4 separate regions of the Homo sapiens genome follow, and all the other regions are linked to region 3. Evidence: promoter capture Hi-C in 16 types of primary human blood cells and fetal thymus (Javierre and others, 2016). All regions are on one chromosome and are shown on one strand. Each heading gives the region's core, a stretch centred on a gene start or on the middle of the fragment in contact. The rest is flanking DNA. Distances are from core to core; before and after follow the strand shown.

Region 1 (2,750 bases), core at 114-2,613, 140 kb after region 3:
CTGGGTCCTGGGAAGGCATGCGCTCATGAACCTAGATGATGAGGGAGTAGGGTAAGGTCACATGCAGAAGGGAGGAGGCAGGAATTCCAAGACAGGACTCTGCCTGGATTGCAGGGGTCACTCACAGGGAACTGAAACAAGAGCCAAGTGTCATTGAGGTCCTATAAGCATTCCCAAGGACCGGGTGAGTCGTCTATCCTTAGCAGCAGGCATTTGTTCTTCACAAGGGAGCAAATCTGGTTGGGTCAATTTGTCAGCATGCAATTCAGAACCCCGTGGAAATGCTCTTTCCAAGCTTCCCTTCTGGGAGGGTGTAGTCAGTGGACAGCCTCTAGCGGCTGCACCTCAGGATCCACCACAGCCTTCACAAGCCCCACACCGAATGGGCTACTCCCAGTCAGTCACTGAACACAGCAAGGGAAGCAGAGATAGGGCACTGTTTCCTGACAAAGGACTCTTCCAGCAGGCAACCTCATCTGAAGACTCCCCACCCATCCAGCTGAGATTTTTCTCAGATGCCCTGCAGCCTGAGGCTCTTCCTACACAATCCTCCTTTCCCTCTCTCCTTTCTCTGGTGTCAGACGAGCTTCATGGTCTACAGGATCTTTCTGTCTACTCCTGCTTCCTGTCCCCTGTATCCTTCCCAAACATTTCCCTCCAGTACATCTGTTGCTCTTTTAATTCCATCTTGGCATCTGCTTCCTGAAGGGCCCAACTCACATGCCACCTGATATGCAACAGCTTCTTTTATGTTCTTCCTTTATGTCCATGCTTGCTTTGGCCTGGGCACCAACCTTGGTCTAATCAGGTGTCGGGATCGCACAACCCCAGAAATAACTGCTCTTGGAAAAATTAATTCCTGGGGCTCTACCATAGGAGAGGGCTATAGATATGACAATCCAGTAAGGCCAGAATCAACTTTCTTGAAATTCTCCTGCTGGTACTAGCTGTCCCCACAAAACCGTGGTCTCCATATCAGGGTGTGCACATTCCAGGGGCAGCACAAGTCACCCTCCAGAGTGGGGGGAAAATACAAAGACGGCTTATTTTCCATCTTAAAAACAAAAAAGAACTTCAACTCTGCTAACAATTAATGTGCATATAACTTGTAAATAAATATATACTTGCCGGAAGAGTACTGAAAATATTTTACTGTTATGGGTGAACAATTTTTTAAAAGTGGAGAGTAGAGCTTTAGAGTGATAATGAATGAAACTAATCCCTGTTTGACATAATGCTTCCTAACACTTAAAGACAGCTTGTATGTCCTTCCTAAATTATCTCTTCCTCAGAAGAGGTATCCTCAGGTACTTTAGTCGGCACTCAGCTAGCTGAACTCCAAGATCCTTCATCAACCCTAGTTGTTATTTGTTAGTTACCATGAGAAAGTATTTGGCTAGGACTTAGTACCACTAACCTCCATCTCAGGGTTAGTGGCACTAAGTACTAGCCAAATACACACACACATTATATATATATATATACACACATATATGTAATTGTAAGAGCACTTAACAGATTACTGTGTTAAATGTTTAAGAGTACAATACAGTATTGTTAACTATAGGAACAGTGTTGTACAGATCTCTAGAACTTATTTAGCTTGTGTAATTAAGACTATACCTGTTGCAATTAGCAACTCCTCATTTCCTCCTGATAACCACAATTCTGATTCTATAAACATGACTATTTTAGATTCCATATATATATGTAAGATCATGCACTATTTGTCTGTATGTGCCTGGCTTATTTCACTTAGCATAATGTTCTCCAGGTTCTTCTGCATTGTTGAAAATTGAAAGATTTCCTTCTTTTTTAAAGCTGAATAATATTCCATTGTATCTATAAACCATATTTCCTTTCTATTCATTCAACATTGGGCATTTAGGTTGTTTCCACATCTTGGTTATTGTGAATAATGCTGCAGTGAAGTTGGGAGTGCAAATACATTTTTGAGATCCTAATTTGAATTCCTTTGTGTGTATATATATCCAGAAATGGGACTGCTGAATCATATGGTGGTTCTATTTTTAATTTTAGGGAGAGTCTTCATACTGCTTTCCATAGAGGCTGTAACGTTTTGCATTCCCACCAACAGTGTCAAGTACTCCAATTTCTCCATGTATTTTCCAACACTTGTTATCTTTTGTCTTTTTCATAATAGCCATCCTAACAGTGTGGTTTTGATTTGTTTCCCTGATAACTAGTGACGTTCAGCATCTTTTCATATAGCTATTGGCCATTTGTGTGTTGTCTTTGGAGAAATGTCTGTTCAAGTATTTGGCCCATTTTTAAATTGGTTATTAGCTGTTTTCCTTATATATTTTGGAAATTAACCCCTTATTTGATATATGGTTTACAAACATTTTCTCCCATTCTATAGGCTGCCTTTTCACTCTATTAATTACTTCTTTTGATGTGCAGAAGCTTTTTAGTTTGATGCAGTCTCATTGTTCTATTTTTGCCTTTGTTGCCTGTGCTTTTGGGGATATATCCAGAAAATCATGACCCAGACCAATGCATGAAGATTTCTCCTATGTTTTCTTATAGGAGTTTTATAGTTCAGGTCTTACATTTAAGTCTTTCATCTATTTTGAGTTGATTTTTGTGTGTGGTGTAAGATAAAAATCAAATTTTTTTATTGCATGTTGATACCCAGTTTTCCCAACACCATTTATGAAAAAGACTATCCTTTCCCCATTCTGTATTTTTAGCACCTTTGTTGAGGATCAGTTGACCATGCGTGTGTG
Region 2 (2,758 bases), core at 13-2,512, 180 kb after region 3:
GGTTTGAGACCAGCCTGGGCTGACCTCATAGCATAGCAAGACCTCGTGTCTATAAAAAAATTAAAAAATTAGCCTGGCATAGTGCTGTGTGCCTGTAGTCTCAGCTACTCAGGAGGCTGAGGTAAGAGGGTCCCTTGAGCCTACGGGTTTGAGGCTACAGTAAGCTATGATCATGCCATTGCACTCTAGCCTGGGCGACTGAGTGAGACAGTCTCAAAAAGTACCAGTTCACATGTATTATTTAGGAGATGTACAGTCTGTGGAGTATCAGGCTGACTTACAGCTTTAGGTAAACATTAAACACTCAAATGTAAATTTGGGCTCAGGAGTGAGATATAGAATGGAAATGTGGGTTCAAGAGCCAACCCTTTAGTTGAAGCCACAGGTATGGATGATATGGATGGAGAGAGAGTAGTATCTGGAGGAGTCTAAAGATGGGGAGAGGGTTAATAAGATAGAGGAGACATGAACTATTGGTTATTCTTACCACTCCTACATTTGCAACCTGTCTTCACATCTCTTCCTTCCAAGAAGAATTAGCAAGGGCCAGGGCTGCAAAGAGCACAACATCAGTAATTGACTTTGGTGCCAATGCAGGCTGCAGCTGTGTCTGTAAACAATACAGTTCAGGATTTGTCACAGATGGTGCCAGCCAACGAGAACGTGCCTAGGGAGTCAAAGCAGGGTATCTTAGTACATTTTCTGTTGCTTATAATAGAATACCTGAAACTGGGTAATTTACAAAGCAAAGAAATGTATTTCTTGCAGTTGTGGAGGCTAAGAAGTCCAAGGTTGAGGAGCTGTGTCTGGTGAGAGCTTTCTGGGGTCTCTGCAGAGTCCTGAAACACAGGGTATCACATGGTGAGGGTGCTGAGCATGCTAACAAGCTCAGGTCTCTTCCTTTTCTTTTAAAGCCATCAGTCCCACCGGGCACAGTGGCTCATGCCTGTGATCCCAGCACTCTGGGAGGCCAAGGCAGGAGGATCACCTGAGGTCAGGAGTTCCAGACCAACCTGGCCAACATGACAAAACCCCATCTCTACTAAAAATACAAAAAGTAGCTGGGCATGGTGGTGGGCTACCTGTAATCCCAGCTACTCATAAGGCTGAGGCAGGAGAATCATCACTTGAACCTGGGAGGCAGAGGTTGCTGTGAGCTGAGATCGCACCATTGCACTCCAGCCTAGGCAACAAGAGCGAAACTCTGTCTCAAAAAAAATAAAGCCACCAGTTCCACTTCCATGATAATTCATTAATCCATTAGCCCATTAACCCATGAATCCATTGATTCACGAATGTATTAATCCATTCATAAGGGCAGCATCCTCATAATCCAATCATCTCTTAAAGGTCCCACCTCTCAACTGGGGAATAAATTCCAACAGGAGTTTTGGAGAAAACATTCAACCCATAGCATGGGGTTTGCTATTTTTTCAGTAGTTAATATTATATGTCAGTTATTTTCTAATAAAAATTGGATGATATACATATTTAACTGCTATATATATGTATATAGCGATTCTCCTGCCTCAGCCTCCTCCCAAGTAGCTGGGATTACAGGCATGCACCACCATGCCCAGCTAATTTTTGTATTTTTAGTAGAGACATGGTTTCACCATATTGGTCAAGCTGGTCTCGAGCTCCTGACCTCAGGTGATCCGCCTGCCTTGGCCTCCCAAAGTGCTGGGATTACAGGCGTGAGCCACCATGCCGGCCCCCAAAATATTTTTATACATAGCTTAATTCATACAATATGAGTACATGGTAAATTTGGCATAAACACTGAAAATTATGCACCCCCTTTTGATGAATACCCCAATTTACACCTAAGTAAAGCACCTAATTTAGGAAATTTATGTTTGGATATGATTTTGTTGTTTCAAGAGTAAATGTTATGGTGTGATTTTATTGTAAATTGTTCAATATGTGGTATGCTAAAAAGTATTTTCTATTAAAGATACTCAGTTAAATAGATAAATAATGAAATAGCCTAGATAAATTGTATATGAAAAATAAGATTGAGACATGATTAAAGAAGAATGCCTGTTAAACTAAAACTCAACAGAAATGAGACCTAAACCAATGAGAATGGAAAGAAATAATATAGAGTGTTGGGATGATTGGTTAGTTAGTTGCAAAATAAATCAATTTAGGTCCTTACCTTGTACTATATATCAGATATAACATATATCAAAATCAATTCCAGAATTATTAAGCTAAATGGAAAAAATCAAATCATACCTGATATAATGATTAATATGTACCAACTTGACTGGACCATAGGATGCCCAGATATTTGGCCAAACATTACTCTGGCTGTTTCTGTGAGGGTGTTTTCGGATGTGATTAACATTTAAATCAGTAGACTGAGTAAAGCAGATCCCCCCACTCTTCCATAATGTGAGTGGGCCTTACCCAATCAGTAGAAGGTCTGAATAGACTAAAAGGCTGACCCTCTCCCAAGCAAGAGTGCCTTCTCCTATCTGACAGATCTTCAAACAGGACCATCAGCTCTTCCTGGTTCTACAGCAGCCTACTGGTCTTCAGACTTGAACTGGGACATTGGCTTGGCAGATTTTGAACTTGCCATCCTTCATAATCATATGAACCAATTCCTTATAATCTTTCCATATATACACATCTTGTTGACTCTGTTTCTGTGGTAAAGCCTGACTAATACATGTGGGGGGGGAAAGTTAGAAGAGAATTATAAACCTTTGGCTTAGAAATGACTTTCTAGCCTTAAAAATGATGGTAA
Region 3 (2,700 bases), core at 143-2,642:
GGACCAAGGAAAAGATTTACCCTAAAAGAACAAAGTATGCTCCGACAAATCTATTGAAAGGAATGATTTACACTGGTGCTTCCTGCCCAAATGTTGAGACCAATGGCCTGGTGCTTCCTTCTTGAAACTAGGTTGCTCTACTTACATGAAACAAACTGGGCAGAGGTCAACCGTGAGAGCCTGAGCCTCCCCAAGTAAACAGCAAAAGATTCCCCAGGCCCAACAGCCCCCACCCCCACCTTCAAGGAAAGTGGATCTACCCGGAGCACGTAGGCCAGAGGAGGCAGGAGAAGAGGGTCAGTCCGTGAGCTCCGGGTACCTGGAGAACATGAATCTCCCGGGTGTACTGTCCCCATGAGGGTCACCGAGGAACCTATGGATCTTCCACTCTTCGCCCAGAATGTCTTCCCTCTATCCCCTCCACCTCCCCAAATTCCAGCACCAGGGGCCACCTCAGAGCCACAAATCCTGAAAGGACCACCCAGGTGACTCGGGCCCACACACCCCTCTTTCGGGGTACACTTGGTGGCAGGCTAGCAGGCTTTTGGCCTCAGCTGGTGGTGCCATATAACCAGATTCGTCACAGAGACCCATTTTTTATCAGTCCCAGGCCAGAAGTACGAAGACTGATCTTAACGATGTGGCCTGCCTGGGAGGTAAGGCGGCAGGCGTTGCCAGAATTGATGGGAACTGTGGCACAGGTGGGAAACCTGGTTTAACAAATTCTTCATTGATTCAGGGGACCACTTTCCTTGAGCCAAGTCTTGGCAAGCGGCCGGCGAAACTCACAGGTCCCTTTCCTGGCTGCGTCCCCAGCCTCCAGCCTTCCCCGCCCCAGAGATGCCCCAGGAGCGGCCCCTCGGTGTAGGTAACGGGTGCCCGGGCGGCTCCGCTCCGCCGCCTAGAGCCTGGAAGCCGCCACTGCGGCCCAGGACAATCCGGCTACGCGGCCGGCGCCGACCCCGCACGCTGGAGTCCGCTGCCGCACGGCGCTGGCAGTCGGGGGTGGTGTCTGAAGTCAGGCGCTTCCTGCCTTTTCGTCGGCCCGGGTGCCCGGCTCGCGCCGCCAGGCTCTGGGATCCCAGGTCGCCCCGCCCAGCAGCCCGCGCCCTGCTCGGTGCGCTCAGCGTCCCCGCCCCTTACCCCAAACCCCCACCCTCTGTGCCCTCAGGGGGGCACCCCCATCGGGGCGGGAGGGGGGGGTCAGCTGTGCCCCGGTCGCCGAGTGGCGAGGAGGTGACGGTAGCCGCCTTCCTATTTCCGCCCGGCGGGCAGCGCTGCGGGGCGAGTGCCAGCAGAGAGGCGCTCGGTCCTCCCTCCGCCCTCCCGCGCCGGGGGCAGGCCCTGCCTAGTCTGCGTCTTTTTCCCCCGCACCGCGGCGCCGCTCCGCCACTCGGGCACCGCAGGTAGGGCAGGAGGCTGGAGAGCCTGCTGCCCGCCCGCCCGTAAAATGGTCCCCTCGGCTGGACAGCTCGCCCTGTTCGCTCTGGGTACGTACGCCGGCTGCGGCGCCCCCTGCGCCGCGCGACACCCTGCTTCCCCCGGTCCCCGCCGAGTTCCCCTTTCCGGGGGTTTCTGCGCCCGCCTGGGAGAGTGGAGAGAAGCGAGTAGTCTCAATGGGTTGGCGCCTGGGAGGCAAGGGGAGTCATTAAGAATGACAAAGAGGGGACTGTCCGGTCGAGCGCCGAGGCTTCCCCGGGAAAGTGGCTGCCTGGGCCGTGCGTGAGAACACCTGGGAAGGGGAAGCGGAGTGTGAACGGGCTTGAACTTTAATCCGCCGCAGCTGTGTGTCTGCTCAGACACATGCCTACACCTACCTGCTTACCTGGCTGCCTCCAAGCCCGGCTCAGCCGGCGTCGCTGGCGTGTAGACTGGGCCGCCTCGGAACGGGGGCCGGCGTCTAACCCTCTGGCCGGGTCTTGCCTGCGCCCCTTTGGCACCCCCTGCCCACCTCTAAGCCCCAGCGACGAGCAGAGATGTTCAAGATCGGCAGAGGCGCCCTCGATCTCTTTTCAGAGCTCTTGAGCTTTGGGGGTAGGTTTTGGATTTTTGGGCGGATTAATGGTTCCTTTAATTAACTTCCCTGGGAGAAGTGGTTTCGGTGTCCGCCGAGGGCAGGAGCGAAACCCTAGACCGAGTGTTGCCAGTTTCCTTTGAGTATGTCCTTGGAAATGAAGGAGGGATGGGAAAGGTGAGGGGAAGTTAAACCCCTCTCCCGGGTCGGGTCTGCGGAGCGGTGCGTTTTTTGGCGGTGAAGTTCAAGGGTCTGTCTGGACGCGGTGAGGGCGCAGCGCCGCGCGCCTCCTGGCCAATTCTTGCCCCTTGTGCTGGTGGGTCTCTCTGGTGTTGAGATAGCTGATCAATAGCGCAGGTGTCCTGGTTATTGCTAGTCTTCCGTGAAGTGAATTGTTCGTTCGATATGCCCCGAGTTTAACCCGTATAGCATGCGGCTCGCTGCAGGGTGGTTAGAGTCTGTGGAAAGCCATGGAACTCCTCCCCAGAAATGCCCAGAGCCGCAGCCTCACCCAGCTCCGTGTACAACTACAGGGGGTTCGCGGCCCCGCCTGCAAGCCTGCCCTAGAAACGCTGATTAAAAACCGCAGCAGAAGGGGAGGCATCCTGTAAGAGAAATACAAGGCAGTCTTGGAACCGGATGCTCCCAGCTACACCCTTACCTGAAACTCACCAGCAGGTAACATG
Region 4 (2,700 bases), core at 145-2,644, 240 kb before region 3:
TGATGGGGTCCATGGATTGTATGGTAGCACAGTACCAATGCTTACTTCCTAGTTTGAGTGGTTGTGTTGCGGTTATGTGGAAGAGAGGCCTTGTTTAGGGGGAATACCCACTGGAGTATTTAGAGGTGATATGACAGCATGTCTGCAACTTAAAAACTTTAAAAAAAGAATAGATCAATGGATGCAGCTAGACGTCATTATTGTAAGGGAACTAACACAGAAACAGAAAACCAAACATTGCCTGTTCTCACTTTATAAGTGTGAGCTAAACATTGAATACACAGGGACACAAAGATGGAAACAATAGACACTGGGGTCTGCTTGAGGGGGAAGTAAGAGGGGGGCGTGGGTTGGAAGGATACCTATTGGGTACTAGGCTCACTACTTACGCCACGGGATCATTCGTACACCAAACCTCAGCAACACACAATTTACCCACTTAACAAACCTGCACATATACCCCTGAACCTGAAACAAAAGCGTAGAAAAAATATTTTCTCAGACCAAAGAAAAAAAAATGTATTTCTATGCTTGGAAGGAATGATTTTACAGAGGGCTTCCAGAAACATGTCTGATTTTCAGGTGCAAGATCAGAATGTTCCAGTTATATTGATAACCTCCAGAGAAACAAACTCTCATGAGTAATCTACTCAAAACAGAAGATGTAGTTAATTATTTCTAGAGTACTAAATTGTACTCTACTATTAAACAAGTTTGGGATCGCTATTTTCCAGCACATTTTCTGAAGTAACAACTGTGTTTGGCTGTGTTGACAATAAAGGTCTGTGTGGAAAAGGGGGAAAATGAATAAAGCGATGTATCCCCCCACTCGCGAAAAAAGAAAATAGTTCAAATAGAATGGAAAAAGAATAATGAAAATGAGAATATTCACAGCGAGAAAGAGGGCAACGGAGCAAACGTGAAAACTTAGCAAGTAGAGAGCGTGGCGAAGGGGGTACAGGAGCTCTTAGAAACTCTTCTTGCCATTTTCCCCGCAACTTTTATTTCAAAACGAATTCTTAAAAAAGTTTTGTGGATATCCATCACATTTTTCTGTATACACATAGCCAGAAGCTCAGGCCCCAAGACAGATTGATTAAATGGGAATTTGGGGGACTGGAACCGTGGCATGTGGATTGAGAAAAACACCACTACCACGCTCCCGGCGGTTCCAGGTGTGCAGCCGGGGCTGCGCTCCAGCGCTCCCGAGTCACACCTGTGCGGCTTATTCAACGCGATGCCTGGACGCAGCCTCCAGAGAGGAGGCCGGGATTGGAATACGCAGCCGGGGAATGGTTGCAGGTGGTCCAGCTCCCGCCCCCGCCCCGCCCCCGCCCGGGCCTCGTGCGGCCCCGGGTGCGCAGGTGAAAGCCCGGCCTCAGCGGCCTCGGCCCTGCCATGGACCCCGCGCCCGGCGTCCTAGATCCCCGCGCCGCGCCGCCCGCGCTCCTGGGCACCCCGCAAGCCGAGGTGCTGGAGGACGTGTTGCGGGAGCAGTTCGGGCCGCTGCCCCAGCTGGCCGCTGTCTGCCGGCTCAAGCGGCTGCCCTCGGGCGGCTACTCGTCCACTGAAAACCTCCAGTTGGTGCTGGAGCGGCGGCGTGTGGCCAACGCCAAGGAGCGTGAGCGGGTGAGGGATCCCTAGGGTCGACGTCCGTTCCCCCCTTCCCTGCTCTACCACCAAACACCTGGTCAACACCCGGGGGTCCGCTCACCGCCCACCCCCGCTCGAGGCGACTTCGAGCTCCCGAGGCCTCCCACGCCCCCAGCTTGTCAGGAGAATGGCAGTGGCCTCCTTCTTCTGCACCTCCGTGCAGCTGCTCGTTGGCGGCCGCTGCGGTGGCCGCCTCGCCCGCTAACCCTCCAGGATTTGTGCAGGACCCGGGTCTGGGAGGGGACAGAGGAGGGGCCCTGACAACTTCAAAAATGTCTCCCTGGGCAGGTGCTTTAAAAGCTTCGCGCCCAGGGGGTGCGCCTTCATCTCACACCGTAGGCGCTGGTGGGTGCTTGGGACGCGCAGGGATCCCCTTCGCTCCTTTTTCTTGCTCTCTGCATCTCGGCCTCGAAGCACACACGAGGGTGAGGAGAAAGGGGGGCCTGACGGAAGTGACTTTTCTTTTTTAAAGTAACGAAACACGACGTCCCAGTGTGCACCCAAGACTCCCACTCAACTCTGTCAAGATAAAGTGAGTGTTTCCCAGTCGAGCCGCAGCAACTCGCAAACGGGAAGGGTCCTGTGGGCCGTGGTTGGAGCGGCACCTGCTGGTAGATTTTACTATCTAACGAAACTCAGCCCCAAACTTGGGAGACATGGTCTCCTTCCTAGCGTTTGCAGTCTACGGGTTTGGTTGCAGCAGAGGCGAATCCAGGAGAGAGAAGGGTGAGGGGTAGAAGAGGGAGCAGAGCGCACGTTCAGGACTGGGACTGGGGAGAGAAGTACCGCCCGGGGCTGTTCCTAGGCCTTTCAGAAATGTCCCAGTGAATCAAGTAGGAGCTTTGCAGGGAGAGGGCAAGCGCAGAAAGGACGACAGGAGAGTAGGAGACTTCTTTAAGTCTCCTCTTTTACCAGTACTAGACTCTTGATGGACAGAACCCTGTGATCTGATTCGGTGGCCCTACAAAGAGATTATGATCTAATAGTTTAAGTGGTCCTTCCCACCAGGAAGGAATTGTCTTCTCCAGAGAATCAGTCCTGGTTTTA

Evidence for each region. Contacts are between HindIII fragments. The CHiCAGO score rates a contact against its expected background, and 5 or more counts as called.
Region 1: a fragment that was not itself captured here is called in contact with the fragment with the promoter of TGFA in region 3 in 2 of 17 cell types (M1 macrophages and M2 macrophages); the score reaches 5.4 in M1 macrophages.
Region 2: a fragment that was not itself captured here is called in contact with the fragment with the promoter of TGFA in region 3 in 2 of 17 cell types (M2 macrophages and M0 macrophages); the score reaches 6.0 in M2 macrophages.
Region 4: a contact is called between the fragment with the promoter of FIGLA here and the fragment with the promoter of TGFA in region 3, in 3 of 17 cell types (M2 macrophages, naive CD8 T cells and naive B cells). The highest score is 5.9, in M2 macrophages.

Annotation. Positions count from the first base shown.
Region 1 is chr2:70,409,295-70,412,044 of GRCh38, reverse strand. No RefSeq gene overlaps it. Among named protein-coding and RNA genes, the nearest start is that of TGFA-IT1, 71 kb to the left of the region's middle. The HindIII fragment of the contact is 2,132 bases long and covers 298-2,429 here.
Region 2 is chr2:70,372,684-70,375,441 of GRCh38, reverse strand. No RefSeq gene overlaps it. Among named protein-coding and RNA genes, the nearest start is that of FAM136A, 72 kb to the right of the region's middle. The HindIII fragment of the contact is 6,977 bases long and covers 1-2,758 here.
Region 3 is chr2:70,552,518-70,555,217 of GRCh38, reverse strand. TGFA (transforming growth factor alpha) reads left to right here and starts at 1,392. Exons shown (of 6, transcript NM_003236.4): 1 at 1,392-1,490. The coding sequence starts at 1,451. It overlaps LOC124907824 (a long non-coding RNA gene), which reads right to left and starts at 2,510. Exons shown (of 2, transcript XR_007086906.1): 1 at 1,826-2,510. RefSeq lists a silencer at 1,262-1,331. The HindIII fragment of the contact is 13,094 bases long and covers 1-2,700 here.
Region 4 is chr2:70,789,337-70,792,036 of GRCh38, reverse strand. FIGLA (folliculogenesis specific bHLH transcription factor) reads left to right here and starts at 1,394. Exons shown (of 5, transcript NM_001004311.3): 1 at 1,394-1,629. The coding sequence starts at 1,399. The HindIII fragment of the contact is 3,375 bases long and covers 1-1,955 here.